Linked DNA regions of Homo sapiens: region 1 is linked to region 2. Evidence: promoter capture Hi-C in 16 types of primary human blood cells and fetal thymus (Javierre and others, 2016). All regions are on one chromosome and are shown on one strand. The core of a region is centred on a gene start or on the middle of the fragment in contact, and the rest is flanking DNA. Distances in the headings are between cores, read along the strand shown. Region 1 overlaps G6PC2 (glucose-6-phosphatase catalytic subunit 2). Region 2 holds the start of CERS6-AS1 (CERS6 antisense RNA 1).

Region 1 (3,354 bases), core at 583-3,082, 120 kb before region 2:
AACACGGAGAAACCCTGTCTCTATTAAAAATACAAAAAAATTAGCCAGGTGTGGTGGCAGGTGCCTATAGTCCCAGCTACTCCGGAGGCTGAGGCAGGAGAATGGCATGAACCCAGGAGGCAGAGCTTGCAGTGAACCGAGATCGCGCCACTGCACTCCAGCCTGGGCAACAGAGCGAGACTCCGTCTCAAAAAAAAAAAAAATGCACTTCCTCAGTTGCATCAGCTACATTTCAAGAGCTCAATAAACATCTGTGGCCAGTGGCTACTATATTGGACAGCACAGATAGAGAACATCTCCATCACTGTAAAAGTTCAATTGAAGAGTGCTGGAATATACAGTTTTAAAATACTTAAGAAAAGAATCTCATTTTTAGAACCAAGTCACTTGACTTTTTCTTAAACCAAGATTTTTGTATGTATGTACCAATTTGATCTTGAATTTATTTAAAAATTTTGAAAAAATGTAAAGCATTTCAACATTTGACTTTTAGTTTCAAGGACATCTTATAACAATTCTTTTAATCACCATCTGTTTTATAATGAAATATGTCTAAAGAAGGCACCAACTTAACCTTCTTAGGCAGATGTCCAATCAATAGGTTGTCAAAGGAAAGGAACTAATATTCTTCCTGATAGCTAGTTTCAGCAATAATAAATTATTTTGTATTTTTTTTCCAAATGTAGGTTTGATTGGACAGTTTCTTGAGTCAGATTTTCTCTTGAGTCAGATTTTCTTGTCTAGATTTTCTCATCCTAAAAGCTCATGGTATTGACATTTTTCTCCTGAATATGTAGATAGGTAGACATTTTGAATATATGGTTATAGTAACAGTATTTAATGAGCTCAATTCCACTTACTTCTGACAAATAAATTGGAAACAGAAGAGTCTTTTCCATCATTATTAAGGGCAGGCATTTTCTCCAAGGCTGTGAAAAACGATTCCTCTTGCTGCCTAAGGCGTTTCAATTGCAAAAACAATTTACCACCATATGGATCCCTCCAGGAGACTTCAACTAGAATAAAGAGGGAAATCTACTCCCATGGGGACTCTGGGGTTTTTATGGAAGATAGGGGCAGAGTTCTTGGGGATTAATTATAGAAAACAAGCCCACACTTCATCCCAGTCCCCTCTGAGGGTAATGTGTTGCCCAACAGACAGCACCATGGGGTGGCTGAAGATAGCTTTCTCCATGGAAACGGAGAACGGATTTATGGTAGAGTCAATCATTGCTGCAGAATTCCCTGGCTATTAATGCCGGTTTCCTCAGGCCTTGCTGAAAGCAGGCTGAGATTGTACTAGGATGAAGGGGATGTACCAGAATCCTTCAAGACTAACATTATCTTATGTGAAATTTGGCAAAGGGCTTTTAGACAGGAATGAGATCTCTGATGTGTGGAAGATGTAATGACACAAATGTATCATGAAATGTGAAGGCATCTAAAGGTACAGCATGGTGGGACATAGGGTGGGACTGAACCAATGAGCAACGGTCATCACCTGAAGAATCATTCTTCTCTACTTCTTTCATCCCAAATGTCCCAGCAACATGAGACAAATTTCATTCTTAAGCTATTCTTTCTTAATCCCTCAGCTTTTTGCTTTGGAATCACCGAACCACTAATATCAAGTTCAGTTTATTTACCTTTTAGAAAGTTCAGTTGCCTTTTAGAAAGAAAGCTATTAAGTGCGTTTTATAAAAGCAATGACACATGCTCTATACATATACTTGGAAAGGAGTAATTAATACTTTGATTTTTTGAGGTTTGTTATCCTCAGCTACTATCATGTTAAACAACACTCACTTCAACTGTATTGTTTTCATTAATATTCATAGATTATTTAATATGTCATCTAAAATAATTAATGTATTGATATTCTGAGAAGAGTTACATAAAACATTGTGGGGGATTACTAAGATATCTAGCAAAATCTGCCTCAAAATCCTTGTACTTGATTGAAATGACACAGTTATCAACTTAAAGCCCAGCATTCCTAGATTCAATGAGGAAAAAACACACTTACTGAGAAATTGTTAATATAATATTAATAGTCCATCAACAATAATTTTCTAAAACAAAGCTATAGATTTTCATCACAGTTCAGTATACATAGAGACTAATCCAGCTAACAGATGCAAGCATTTAATAGTTGGCCTGGGTTGGAGCATGACCTTGAGGAAGGCACCTGATTTCTCTGGTTTTGAAAGTCTGTCTCCTAAAAATAAAGTATGGAGATGTCATAGTGAAGAGATAAGTCTTTGGGGGTTGAATAATGTTCTATTAGAGTAAGTTCAGTAGAATTTATTGAAATATTGGTGAGCACTACTGTAAAACAGAGACCAGAAGTGAAGCAGAGGTTCAAGTCCATACTGTAGCCTGGCCTGTTCTGTTGTCCCTGGACCCGTGTGTATATACATCTGGAGCCACTGTTGGTCCCACCTAGACCCTGCATGTATGTGTGGGGTATAAGTCAAAGAGGATGCAGTATTTCAATGTCATTTCTGAAAAGGTAGCTGATTTATATGGCAGTCATCATAGAATCTAAATGAAAGCATTCATTCTTACTGATTTTTACCTCTTGTAAATGAAGAAACAAAAGACAGTGTAGGCCAACTATTAATACAATGGCTCAAGCCTGCAATCCCAGCACTGTGGGAGGCTGACATGGGTGGAACATCCTCAAGGGAACTCCTTGAGGCCAGGAGTTCAAGACCAGCCTGGGCAAATATAGTAAGAAGCTGGCTCTAAAAAATATTCAAAAATTAGCCAGGCATGGTGGTGCACACCTGTAGTCTTAGCTAATGGGAGGCTGAGGAGGGAGGATCATTTGAGCCAGGAGTTTGAGGCTGCAGTGAGCCGCTATCCACCACTGCACTCCAGCCTGGGCAACAGAGCAAGTCCCTGGTTCTAAAAAGGAAACATACAAACAAAAAGCATGTGCATGTGTGCACACTCAAACACACAGTGTAATGGGGATATGTGTCAGAAGCCTTGGGTTCTAATTCCTGCTCTGAAGGTGGCGTGACTCCAGGCAAGTTCTTTTACCTAAATAGGCTTCCATTTCCTCATCTGAAAACTGAAACTGGATATGGCTGTGGTCCCCACTAAAATGTCAACAGGAATCAGATGCAGCCTGGCCTTAAGAAGATAAAGGAATCATAGTGGGGCTCCTGCTGGGATGCTGAAGACTGTGAGAAAATGGAGTCCTTGCCTCCTACTGGGGACTGTTAGTATGCAGCTCTGGTCAGTTGTCTCCAGCTGGGGATGCAGGCTCTGTGTTGTCATACTATCAGATTTTTCAAGAAATACAGAACTTCCGATTTTTATGTCAAATATTCTTGTATCTAAATA
Region 2 (3,060 bases), core at 524-3,023:
GTGGCACCATCATAGCTCACTGCAGCCTTGAACTCCTGGGCTCAAGCATTTCTCCTGCCTTGGCCTCCCAATGTGCTTGAATTACAGGTATAAACCACCAAGCCTGGCTGTCATCGTTACTATTTACATCATTTTTTTTTTCTTATCACTTACCTTTCTTATCACTATTTTCTTTGCTGATTTATCTTCTTCTTCTCATCCCCCAAACATGGGTATTTCTCAAGGTTCTGCTTTGGCAGGCAGTGCAGAACAGATCAAAGCTTGGACTAAGTTCTTTGCATCACCACTTTCTGGCTGTAAGACCAAGGACAAAGTTTTTACCCTCTTGTGCTTCAGTTTATCTGAAAAAAATTAAAAAAAATGAAAATCACAACAGCCTCCAGTTTCAGTCTTCTACTTCCAATTTTTGTTAGACATGTCCACATGAAAGGACTCTCATCAGCTTAAATTCAAAATGTAAAAATCAACCCATTTTTCCTTTCCAAAAACTGAGGCATCTTCTCACAGCTCCTCTTTCTGTAAATGCATATTCATTCTACAGGAATTTATTGGGCACCTGCTGTGTAGTGGACACTGTGGCTGATAAGGATCAGCTATAAAAGGTAAGGCCTTTGCCCTCAAGATGCTTCCATTGAGTCCAGTGGGGAAGGCCGTGTGATAAGTGTTCTGATGGAGTTAAATGGTTGTACCTTTTCTTCTCAAGGAAGAGCACCAAATTCCCAAAGGCTAAGGCTTTCTGGGAAGACTAACTTCTAACACAAATTAGTCTTCAAGGCCAAGTAAGAGTTAGCGACATGAAGAAGAAGAGGAAAGAGGTCTCTGTGGCAGTGTAAGCAGTATGGCCAGAGTCCTGGAGCTGTCACAGGCATGGCACATTCTGAGACAGTGCCCATGGGGAGGGATGAGGATGGAGTGGAAGGTCAAGGTCAGGCCACTAAGGGGGAGAACAGGTGGTAGGAAGTGGGGTGGAGGCTGCCTCACTGCTTCACGCTATGCCCTTTGTCTCAAATGCCTTTCCTCTTTCCACTTGACTCATTCAAATACTATTCATTCTTCCTAGCTTTCTGCTTGAAACCTTTTCTTACCTGATCCCAGAAGCAGCTGTTACGAGCAGCGAATCCTTATGGGTCCGCAGCGAACTCAATTCTTAGCTCCTTAGAAGAAAGAATTTGGGGCCGGGTGTGGTGGCTCACGCCTGTAATCCCAGAACTTTGGAAGGTTGAGGCAGGTGGATCACTTGAGGTCAGGCATTCGAGACCAGCCTGAACAACATGGTGAAACCCCGTCTCTACTAAAAATACAAAAAATTAGCCAGGTGTGATGGCGGGCGCCTGTAGTCCCAGCTACTCTGGAGGAGGGGGGAGGCAGGGAAGAATTTGACCGAGGAAAAATAAGGCAGACTGAGAGACTGAGGCAAGTTTTAGAGCAAGAGTGAAAGTTTACTAAAAGGTTTTAGGGCAGGAACGAAAGGAAGTAAAGTACACTTCGAGGAGGGCCAAGCTGGCCACTTGAGGGATCAAGTGGCTGGCTTGACCTTTGCCTTAGGGTTTTATATATTGGCATACCTCTGGGATCTTGCATCCCTTTTCTCCTGATTCTTCCCTTCTGGTGGGCTGTCTGCATGCCCAGTGCCCTACCAGTGCTTGGGAAGGGCTGCATGCGCAGTGTGTTTACGGGAGTTATACGCATGCTCACTTGAGACGTTCTTCTATTACCAATCTAACGTTCCTAGAGGAAGGTCATATACCAGTTAAACTCCCCCATTTTGCCTCATAGTGCGCATGCTTGAGCCCACTTACCTAACACCTGAGATCTTATTGGGACGCTGCTGATAACCAGTTTCAGGTTTTTTCTGTCTGTCGGGAGATTGCCTTTCCCTCGTGCTGGCTGTGACTAATTATTGTTTTAGAGAAATAATGATTGTAACAGTGTAACAACCACCTGACCATCACTTGATGGTCGTCTGACATTCCTGGTTGGGCGTGCAGCCCTCTCCTGGCCTGCTGATGTCTGCCTGACTACTATAACACAACCTCTCTCTCCTCTGAACTTTTCTGGCAATTACTATTCTCACAACATATTTGATATAACGATGATACCAATGTCTTATATCTATAGATTTTATTTTTATTTTTAAAAGCCTTTTGCTGGCCGTGTGCAGTGGCTTATGCCTGTAATCCTAGCACTTTGGGAGGCCGAGGCAGGTGGATCACTTGAGGCCAGGAGTTCAAGACCAGCCTGGCCAATATGGTGAAACCCCATCTCTACTAAAAATACAAAAAAATTAGCTGGGTGTGGTGGCATGCACCTGTAATTCCAGCTACTCAGGAGGCTGAGGCACGAGAATCACTTGAACCTGGGAGGCAGAGGTTGCAGTGAGCTGAGATCCCGTGCCACTGCACTCCAGCCTGGGCAACAGAGTGAGACTCTGTCTTAAAAAAAAAAAAAAATCTTTAGAGCTAATAACTTCTGCCTGTGGCCTACCTCCCTAACTGTATTGAGACCCCCTTCAATGCAGCAGCTTTGCCCCTGACTTCCTCATACTCCTCACAAAGCCTAACATAATGTCTCGAACGATTGGTGCTCAATACATTTATTGACTTAATGTTGATGTGCATTTTACTGCTTTCATTAGTGTTCTGGCTCTGTGGGTAAACAATTTGGTACATGTAGCATAGTGTAAACTACTGGTTAGCATAGTGCAAACTATTTTATAACTCCTCAGAAATGACTTCTAAGTGATACAACTAAGAAATGGCAGCACTAGAAGTGTAGTACATCAGGGCTCAGTTCTATGTACCATCTAGTACCCTCAGCTGAGAGAAAAACAATACTCTTTGCTCTTAAAAACTCTAGGGACCCTTTTGAACTCATCTTTGGTGACATAGCTCCAATTAGTCTGAAATCTAACATAGGATTGCTTGATGGCTTGCCAGACAGTAACTAGCACTCTGGGTCAGGAACTTTGGCCAGAGCCAAGAGTTCAGTCCTGATGAATCAAATTAACAGCTATGACTCAAAAAGAGGAGGGCTGGGAACTGCTCTTTTATTTCCTATAAC

What was found. The method cuts DNA at HindIII sites, captures the fragments that hold promoters and counts their contacts. A CHiCAGO score of 5 or more calls a contact.
Region 1: a fragment that was not itself captured here is called in contact with the fragment with the promoter of CERS6-AS1 in region 2 in 1 of 17 cell types (endothelial precursors); the score reaches 5.6 in endothelial precursors.

What each region holds. Positions count from the first base shown.
Region 1 is chr2:168,908,269-168,911,622 of GRCh38, reverse strand. It overlaps G6PC2 (glucose-6-phosphatase catalytic subunit 2), which reads right to left. Exons shown (of 5, transcript NM_021176.3): 5 at 1,623-3,354. Among named protein-coding and RNA genes, the nearest start is that of G6PC2, 8.7 kb to the right of the region's middle. RefSeq lists an enhancer at 2,885-3,354. The HindIII fragment of the contact is 5,946 bases long and covers 1-3,354 here.
Region 2 is chr2:168,785,142-168,788,201 of GRCh38, reverse strand. It overlaps CERS6-AS1 (CERS6 antisense RNA 1), which reads left to right and starts at 1,773. Exons shown (of 3, transcript NR_045787.1): 1 at 1,773-1,845. It also overlaps a transcript of NOSTRIN not described here. The HindIII fragment of the contact is 3,155 bases long and covers 263-3,060 here.